Regions from separate parts of the Homo sapiens genome. Here region 2 is linked to region 1. Evidence: promoter capture Hi-C in 16 types of primary human blood cells and fetal thymus (Javierre and others, 2016). All regions are on one chromosome and are shown on one strand. Each heading gives the region's core, a stretch centred on a gene start or on the middle of the fragment in contact. The rest is flanking DNA. Distances are from core to core; before and after follow the strand shown. Region 1 holds the start of H1-4 (H1.4 linker histone, cluster member). Region 2 holds the start of TRH-GTG1-5 (tRNA-His (anticodon GTG) 1-5).

What was found. Contacts are between HindIII fragments. The CHiCAGO score rates a contact against its expected background, and 5 or more counts as called.
Region 2: a contact is called between a fragment that was not itself captured here and the fragment with the promoter of H1-4 in region 1, in 11 of 17 cell types (total B cells, naive B cells, activated CD4 T cells and 8 more). The highest score is 19.2, in total B cells.

Annotation. Positions count from the first base shown.
Region 1 is chr6:26,154,232-26,159,181 of GRCh38, forward strand. It overlaps H1-4 (H1.4 linker histone, cluster member), which reads left to right and starts at 2,098. Exons shown (of 1, transcript NM_005321.3): 1 at 2,098-2,884. The coding sequence starts at 2,160. The coding sequence ends at 2,819. It overlaps H2BC5 (H2B clustered histone 5), which reads left to right and starts at 3,891. Exons shown (of 1, transcript NM_021063.4): 1 at 3,891-4,376. The coding sequence starts at 3,939. The coding sequence ends at 4,319. RefSeq lists enhancers at 1,826-2,577, 2,102-2,261, 2,522-2,601, 3,331-4,082, 4,222-4,271 and a silencer at 2,892-2,941. The HindIII fragment of the contact is 19,818 bases long and covers 1-4,950 here.
Region 2 is chr6:27,153,995-27,158,944 of GRCh38, forward strand. It overlaps TRH-GTG1-5 (tRNA-His (anticodon GTG) 1-5), which reads left to right and starts at 4,133; the gene lies at 4,133-4,204. RefSeq lists a silencer at 4,244-4,293. The HindIII fragment of the contact is 1,152 bases long and covers 2,046-3,197 here.

The DNA of each region.
Region 1 (4,950 bases), core at 848-3,347:
CTGGAATCAAATGCCCATATAATCAGTTTCCCTAGTCTGTTTTGGAGATTTATCCATCTCCCTTTTTATTTCAATAAATACCAAAGGGCATATTTATTTTTGCACTGATGTGCAATAATTAGATTGAAAATACACATCAAGATATTAAAAACATTGATAATTTACATCACTTTTATAACAAATTCAACATTAAACAGTACTGTTTTGATACATTTCACTCGTGTTATATCAAAATTCTATATTCTCCTTATTTCAGTAGCAGAATTTGTGTCTGGAGATTTTGGGCAATGAAATTAAAATTTAAAATGATATCCAACGCCATATTACAATCAACCACGTCCACAGAACAGTATCATATCACCTTATAGCACTGGGCAAAATTTTATTTTGTTTCCATGATAAGTGGCTTGTAGTTCCACCCATACTGTTCCAGCCATATCGTTTTTCAGAAAAAATTCTTTTTTTTTTTTTTTTTGAGACGGAGTCTTGCTCTTTCGCCTAGGCCTGACTGCAGTGGCACTATCTAGGCTCACTGCAAGCTCCGCCTCCCGGGTTCACGCCATTCTCCTGCCTCAGTCTCCCGAGTAGCTGGGACTGCAGGCGCCCGCCACCGCACCCGGCTAATTTTTTGTACTTTTAGTAGATACAGGGTTTCACCGTGTTAGCCAGGATGGTCTTGATCTCCTGACCTCGTGATCCGCCCGTCTCGGCCTCCCAAAGTGCTGGGATTACAGGCGTGAGCCACCGCGCCCGGACCAGAAATAATTCTTTTGGTTGGGCTTTCATTGCCAGCTTACATACACTCTTCTTGATTGGGCAACTACCTAAAGAAATTCACTCAGACATTGTTCAAAGGATGTTTTCAGAGGGCAATGATTTATAATAGCTTAGATAGACTCTCAAAGCTCTACTTCTGAGATCGAAATTTGAACTTGTCGTTTAATCACTACATGTCACTTATTTTTCTTTCTATTGAGCTCTGGGAAGCATTGGAATACAATCTTCAGGGGGATTGAAACCATACGTGGTGAGTGGACTAGTCATTCCTCAACTATTCAGTAATAATAGGGGCTGGGTTTCACTAATAATGGGAGTAGATGTTTCAATCTACGTTTCTTATTTATTTTGCCTTATCATCAATGCTTGAATTTCAGCTCTAAGCTACTTTATTGCAATTTGGTTCTGAAGCATATGCCAAAAGCACTCAGCAAGGCTGCAGACAAATGCTTTAAAGTAAAGTGCACCTCCACTTCCAGTGACTTTATGAACATCACATTTGAAAATTAATCCTTTTTCATCTCTGTACCCTGAGTACATTTTGGACTTCCCTTCGTTCCCAAATACCCTGAATTCAAGGTATCTCAATCCATGGAGCAATTGTCCAGAGGAAGAGAGAAGCAACAGCCCCGCCCCCAACCCTTGGGAGCAGAAAGGGAAAGAATTATCCAAAGAATTGTTTAAAAACTCAGATGTAGCGGACAGATGTAAAACCATGGCTGTATAGATTGATGTCCCAGGGGTCCAAAACTTAATCTCAAATGGGCAATAATTTGTTTGGCATTAAACTAAACCAGTTTGATGAACTCAAATGCCCTCGGCTCAATAGGCAGGACTCTCCGAGGAGCCTGTGTTACTTCCCTCACTTAAGTGCAGATTTGTAATAAAAATCTTAATGCCAGTGGCATGCTTTTTGGATATATAAGAAGCTAACCACTTGGAGTATCATATTTGAGAGGTCAGAAAAGTCCACAGTTAAAGATCGGTTTATAATTTACGAAGAAAATAGAAAGTTTTGTTTCTCTGAGTTGAAATTTGCCAAGCACGGCGGGAAATATTGCAAGTTTTTGGCACAAGGCTTTGTGCTTCCCTTATAATTTGAGATCTGCGTGAAGCCTGAGGGTTCGGGGATCATTATCTGAGAAAAACCGGGCAGTTCGGTGTAGACAATTTTTATATTTTTGGCTTTTTTTGAGGTGTAACAAACACAACTCGGGATCCGAGAGGACACTCTGCGGCTGCCAGCGAGGCGGGCTGGACAGCGCACCAATCACGGCGCAGCTCCGCCCTATATAAACGGGCGGGCGCAGCGCCGCGGCTCGAGTCCCGGCCAGTGCCTCTGCTTCCGGCTCGAATTGCTCTCGCTCACGCTTGCCTTCAACATGTCCGAGACTGCGCCTGCCGCGCCCGCTGCTCCGGCCCCTGCCGAGAAGACTCCCGTGAAGAAGAAGGCCCGCAAGTCTGCAGGTGCGGCCAAGCGCAAAGCGTCTGGGCCCCCGGTGTCCGAGCTCATTACTAAAGCTGTTGCCGCCTCCAAGGAGCGCAGCGGCGTATCTTTGGCCGCTCTCAAGAAAGCGCTGGCAGCCGCTGGCTATGACGTGGAGAAGAACAACAGCCGCATCAAGCTGGGTCTCAAGAGCCTGGTGAGCAAGGGCACCCTGGTGCAGACCAAGGGCACCGGCGCGTCGGGTTCCTTCAAACTCAACAAGAAGGCGGCCTCTGGGGAAGCCAAGCCTAAGGCTAAAAAGGCAGGCGCGGCCAAGGCCAAGAAGCCAGCAGGAGCGGCGAAGAAGCCCAAGAAGGCGACGGGGGCGGCCACCCCCAAGAAGAGCGCCAAGAAGACCCCAAAGAAGGCGAAGAAGCCGGCTGCAGCTGCTGGAGCCAAAAAAGCGAAAAGCCCGAAAAAGGCGAAAGCAGCCAAGCCAAAAAAGGCGCCCAAGAGCCCAGCGAAGGCCAAAGCAGTTAAACCCAAGGCGGCTAAACCAAAGACCGCCAAGCCCAAGGCAGCCAAGCCAAAGAAGGCGGCAGCCAAGAAAAAGTAGAAAGTTCCTTTGGCCAACTGCTTAGAAGCCCAACACAACCCAAAGGCTCTTTTCAGAGCCACCCACCGCTCTCAGTAAAAGAGCTGTTGCACTATTAGGGGGCGTGGCTCGGGAAAACGCTGCTAAGCAGGGGCGGGTCTCCCGGGAACAAAGTCGGGGAGAGGAGTGGGATTTTGTGTGTCTCCGGAGCTATTTTTGACTAAGGCGTCGCGTCGCCCAAGCCGGAGTGCAGTGGCGTCATCTCGATTTTGCGTTCTCGAGTGTCGGAGTTGAACCCATTTGGGCCTCCCTTGTGCTTTGCACTTTTAGCAGGCCCTGGCCTCCAGATAGCATGGGAAAAAAAATGTTGGGATTTTCCCGGGTTTCTAAGCTGGGTTTTTCCGAGTTCCAAACACGGCACAGTGTATCAGTTTCTGTGCTGGTTACAAGCCTACTGGTTATCCCTATCGAGTATGGCAGGCAGTGAGGGACTTCAGAGGAGTACGTCTTAGGACAAGTGGCATAGTACTGACATTATTTCCGAAGGGCTACATTTCAAGTGCTTGGGGAGACTACTGCCACATAACTGAAAATTAGAAACCGACACTGCAGAAAAATACTTGGTCCTTAAATGTGGCATTTGGATGGATTAAGGACTTGCCGAAACGTAAAACTGACAGACTTGGGGGGGGGGGATGTCCCAATTAGCACGGCTTCTGTATGCAACGAGTCCCATACTTTGTTAAAGGAAGAAAGGAATGTGAGTTCTCCTAATCTGTTAAGTATCTTTCGGTGTAAGTTCTGACACCACAATGTTAAAAAAGTCGGATCTCAAAAACCAACTGCTCCAAGCGAAGTGCACAGCTGTCTTGCCTAAAGAGGCCTATTTATAGTAGCCTCGGGTAGTCTGGTCTGGGCTTTCTCATTGGGTACAAGTAAAGGAACGAAATAGCCAATGAAAAGGTAGACTTTTAAGTGTCGTTTACATTGGCATTTGTGACGACACTCTAAAATTAATCCAATCATAAACGAAATCTGATTAACCTCATTTGAATACCGCATCTATAAATGAACAGGGCCTCGGCGGGAGTGATTATTTTCTCAGGTGTTTGCAACAGTGTTCTAACTATTAACGCTACGATGCCTGAACCTACCAAGTCTGCTCCTGCCCCAAAGAAGGGCTCCAAGAAGGCGGTGACTAAGGCTCAGAAGAAGGACGGGAAGAAGCGCAAGCGCAGCCGCAAGGAGAGCTATTCAGTGTATGTGTACAAGGTGCTGAAGCAGGTCCATCCCGACACCGGCATCTCTTCCAAGGCAATGGGGATCATGAATTCCTTCGTCAACGACATCTTCGAGCGCATCGCAGGCGAGGCTTCCCGCCTGGCGCATTACAACAAGCGCTCGACCATCACCTCCAGGGAGATCCAGACGGCCGTGCGCCTGCTGCTTCCGGGGGAGCTGGCCAAGCACGCCGTGTCGGAGGGCACCAAGGCCGTCACCAAGTACACCAGTTCCAAGTAACTTTGCCAAGTAAGCATCTTTACACCTAATCCCAAAGGCTCTTTTAAGAGCCACGCATGTTTTCAATAAATGAGTTGTAATCATTTCATTCAAAAGGGGGGTTATTGGACTTAGCACCACAGTACCAATCTTTAATGTTACGTTAGTACTGCAGAGGAAATAACTTGGAAGTTACAGGGAATAACAATAGGTACTAGAAATTGAGTGCTATGGGTACGTATTAGATCGTTAGCTCATTTAGTATCACATAACACTAGCATAAACTGAAAGTATTGTAAATGTACAGCTCTTTGGTTTCCGTGTGCAGATTTCCAAGTTGATCGTGATGTTGATCCGGGACTCGGTGTGGTGACGGCCCGCCCTGAGCACGAAAGTGCACGCTCTTGACAACTTCCTTATGTTTGGAGCTTTCTCCACCACCACCCCCGCCCATTTTCTTGTAAAATTTTTACCATGCAGATATGTAATAACTGCAAGTAAAGGCTGAAGACAATGTGAGCTGAACACGGAACTATTACAAAGGTTTCTGATTTGTTTTGTAATTGGGCCAGTTTCTGTCTGAAGCTCTTAAGCGAGTGGGGCAGGGAAAGGCGGATCCTAGGCGCTGAGGTGCAGGAAAAAGAAGCAGCTT
Region 2 (4,950 bases), core at 1,372-3,871, 1.0 Mb after region 1:
TAAATAAAAATAAAATTCATTTCTTGTTATCCTGACTTCTGTCAGCATGTTGGCTGAATTCTTTACATGGTAGTATAAAATATGCCTTTATTCCTGTGGGATCTGTGTCCTTGTGATCTTTTCTTTATCTCATTGTCACAATTTTTAATTGACCATGGCTTGTGGGCAAAAAACATTTAGAGACTTCTCTGGATTAGTAATGTTTGTTTGTTTGTTTGTTTTTTGTTTTCTTTAACCTCCACTGTACAGCAGACACCAAACTACCTCCTAGAAACTGGAAGCAATCACTCCAAGTAGAGGGACACTTTTCCCTGCATATTGGTTCAGTGGCATGAAAAGACTAAAATGGCCAGAAGCAGTTTTCAGGTTTCAATTGATTTGAAAGGTGACAATGCTCTCTAGTGGAAATATTTATCCACTGGGCACAAAGACACCCATTCCCTCAGAGCTCGATCAAGGTCACAGGGATAGGATACAAAATTGTCTGAATGGATCACTGAGGAATAATGAGAAGTGCCACTCACACCTCTACTTCTTGAGTCCCAGACATGTGCATTCTAGATATGGAGAGATGGCTCTACATATTGGCCACTGTTTTAATACTTATTAATACTATCACATTGGCAATTAACTATCAACATAAGAATTTTGGGGAACACATTCAGACCACAGCAGTTTCTAAGAGGAGGTAGAAATCCAATGTATCAAATAGTGTTGAGAAATCATATAAGTTGAGGACTAACATAGCCATTTCAACTAGTGAAATGTAAAAGATCAGTTTAAGTGGAGTGTTGAAGAAGAAAGCAAGATGAAGGAGTGTAATAAAGAAATGAGATGAAAGAAGATTTGGGTTTGATGACACTTCAAGGAAATATGGCTATAAACTGAAAGACAGTACTATCAATAGCAGAAAGGAAAAGTGAAAGCAAGAGAACAATTCTTTCAGATGAAAGAAATAAAAGCAGCTTTGAATGCTGATGCGAAAGATCCTATAGAGATCAAATAGAATTTTATTTAATAATACAGGAGAAAGAGGAAAATATTGCTGGAACTATGCCCTTGAAAGAAAGAGGGCTTTTAATTATTTCTTACAGAAAATTTAGAAATTCAGAAGTAGAAGAGTGCATGGCATTGGTAAAGGTAGAACTGGTAGGTTCAACTGTGCCAGCCTGTCTCTTATTCTTCCCAGAATCACTGTAGTGAATGTGTCAGATGAAATCTTCAAAATGGCCTTCCAAAATAAGCACAAGGAAAGAGGCCTTTTTCTAGGCCTATGACATCAAAGATACAGCTTTTCCCTCTTTTTATGGAGAAGCACATGCAGATCAACCCAATTTCCAAAAACATCCCAGCAGAAAATGCTGAAAAGCACTTTCATTCACAGCAGCTTTCTAAATGGGGTTGGGGAAGGCCCTAAGCAAAGGAAAAGGAAAGATCTAACTCAAAGAGACTTGAGACAGAGGCAGCTTGCATTTCCTTCTTACTGGCTGCATTTTCTTTGATGGAGCTCATGTCTTTGAGACTGAGAAAGCCCTTAGGTCACTTCCCTGATCAAACAAATTAATGTTAGGGCTGGGTGCGGTGGCTCATGCCTGTAATCCCAGCACTTTGGGTGGCGGAGGTGGGCGGATCATAAGGTCAGGAGATCGAGATCATCCTGTCTGAAACAGTGAAAACCCGTCTCTACTAAAAATACAAAAAATTAGCCAGTCGTGGTGTCACGCGCCTGTAGTCCCAGCTGCTCAAGAGGCTGAGGCAGGAGAATCACTTGAACCCAGGAGGCGGAGGTTGCAGTGAGCCAAGATCGCACCACTGCCCTCCAGCCTGGGCGACAGAGCGAGACTCCATCTCAAAAAATAAAATAAAATAAAATAATAATAATAATAATAATAATAATAATAATAATAACAATGATGCTAGGAAACAGGTAATTCTTCATTCAGTAAACCTATTAGTAATTAGAATACTTTTGTGTAATCCAGACAGAGGAAAGGAGATAAAGAAAATTTTAGGAAATTAAGCACATTATTTTGGCTCTGCTGAGAAGCTTTATTATGGATAGCTGCAGGGGTAATTTTGAACTCCCTTCATTTTTAAATTTATTATTATTATTTTAGAGGGAGGATCTTGCTCTGTAGCCCAGGCTGCAGTGCAGAGGCACAATCATAGCTCACTGCAACCTCAAACTCCTGGATTCAAGTGATCCTCCTGCCTCAGCCTCCCTTGTAATGGGGACTACAGGCATGCACCTCTGTGCCTGGTTAAATTTTTTTATTTTTTTTGTAGAGACAGGGTCTCACTATGTTGCCCAAACTTGATTCAAATTCATGGCCTCAAGCAATACTCCTGTCTTGACCTCCCAACCTTTCTTTAAATTATTACCAATCTTTTCCCATCAAAGGTCAAAAGGCAAGCCTGCTGAACTAGGCCAGATGCTGCTGGGAGAAGTTGCTTTCATAGAGCTTTGGATGGTAGTCTCTGCCCACCCATTCATTCATTCTGCAGCCAAACTATATTGATAAAGAACCTACCAAATGGGGAGCCCTAGTGATAGATTATTGAACAAAATAGATATTCCTCGTCTTGGGGCATATGGAGCGGGAGGATGGAGGCTGACATTAATCAAATAACTCTGGTATTATACATTACAAACTGATATAAGAGCACTAAAGGAAAAGTGAAAAAGAATCAAGTGGCCGGGCATGATGGCTCACGCCTGTAATCCCAGCACTTTGGGAGCCCGAGGCGGGTGGATCACTTGAAGTCAGGAGTTATAGATCAGCCTGGCCAACATGGTGAAACCCCCTCTCTAATAAAAATACAAAAATTAGCCCTGCGTAGTAGCTTACGCCTGTAATCCCAGCTACTCGGGAGGCTGAGGCAGGAGAATCGCTTGAACCCGGGAGGTGGAGGTTGCAATGAGTCGAGATTGTGTCATTGCCCTCCAGCCTGGGCAACAGAGCGAGACTCTGAGAAAAAAAAAAAGAAGAAGAAAGAGAAAGAAAGAAAGAAAAGGAAGGAAGGAAGAAAGAGAATGAGAGAGAGAGAAAGAAAGAAGGAAGGAAAGAAGAAAAGAAAAGAAAGAGAGAGGGAAGGAGGGAGGGAGAGAGGAAGGAAGGAAGGAGGGAAAGAAGGGAGGGAAGGAAAAAAAAAAAACCAAGGAACCATGTGTTGCGTGGAGACGGGAGGTCAAGAAAAGCTTCCTTGATTTGAAAAGCTTTCTTGAGTTGAAGCTGAAGCATTAAACAAATTTAACCAGGTAAAGAGAAGAGGCCGGGCGCGGTGGCTCACTCCTGTAATCCTAGCGCTTTGGGAAGCCGAGAGGGGCGGATCAGTTGAGTTCAGGAGTTTAAGACCAGAATGATTTTACAGAAAGAAAATCATTTGGTATCAAGGGGAAAACACGACCAGGACCTTGACTCTAGAGGCTACGTTCCTAAAACAGCAAGCGGGGCAGGAGGGAAGTCCCACGGAGCTTTGGAGCCACAGGAGAGGCACTTTTATCTCCCTCTTCTGGCAAACTAGGTATGAAAGGGAGAAAGAAATTTCACTCTGAGGTGCGAGCGCCGCCGGACATTTCCTGACGGCTCAGGTGGGCAGGCTGAGTGCGCGAGCGCCTCACTGGCTTCTCATAGGTACCTGGGTCAGGACGAAGCCACATAGTTCCTCGTGATGAGAAACTCACTTCTGGCACCTGTCGAGATGCCAGATTCCATGCCAAGCCCCCGAAGATTCTGACTAGTTTGGCAAAAAATGGGATCTGGCAGGTCCACTTCAAAGCAGCGCCCTCTTCCTTTTGTTGCCAAAGATCTGAGGACCACACTGCTAAACTGAGCAAGAAACATGCGTGGGTTGGAGATAGAAGTGAGAATAATGAGTTTACAAGCACAGTATTACCAACCCCCAAAAACAACCACCACGCTGGGAAAATTCCATATAATGAAACTTAATGTGTTACCTTTGGCTTCTTTGCCATAAGCAAAATATTGGGGACGGGGAGTGGATAAGGAAGTAAACTGGGTAGGTGTGTAAATAAGGACGAAAGACTGCACCATTCTTTAGATGACAAAAACAGACGTTTCTGGGAAATAAGCAAAGGAAGAGCCCCACAAGCAGCGGCCTCTGGTGGCGTGCCGTGATCGTATAGTGGTTAGTACTCTGCGTTGTGGCCGCAGCAACCTCGGTTCGAATCCGAGTCACGGCAGTACCTTGATGTCGCCTCAATTTCTCAACGTACTGAGCAGTACCTTGACGTCGCCTCAATTTTTCAACATACTGGAGTGGAGACAGTCTCGGAAAAACCCTTGCAAAATTGAATTGACTTACGATCTAATCTGTACACAAAAAACACTAGTATTCATCATGGTGCCCCAACCAGTCAGCCAAGCAGAGAGTGTCTACGCTTGTTGCCTTGTCTTTTTTTTCCCCTCTCCAAAGATTCTCTTCCCAACCCTACCCAAGCCCTACAGTCTTGTTGGCATTGGCTGTATGTGAAGAAACTGAGGTAATTTTTTTTTAATGGAAAACTTTTACTTTCAAACACTGGTAGGCATGAGGAAAGGACTGTTCAAAAGGGGATCCAGGTTTGTTGTGGAGATCTTTCTTAAAACACAAAAGACAAATTATTAATCACGCGTTTCTAAGTATCCTAGCTGGACCAATGCTGAAAAACTGTAACCTTTGATCATCTGGAGAAAATTAAAGAAATTTGAGTAATTGAAGGAATTTGGGTGGGGGGGAATAATGGCCCAGAAGAACAGCCCCCATTTCTAGCCCGTTCAGTTTCTAGAATGAGTTCTAAAGAGCCAAGTAGACTGGGTGAGGCGGGAGTGGAGGAGAGCTGATCTGAGATACGGAGGTGGCTGGAAAGAAGTAGTTGGTGCTACCTAGGACCAGTAGGAGGTGGCTGGAGACAGGCAGATCCCCAGAGGCGCTTCCATGAGCCCAGTT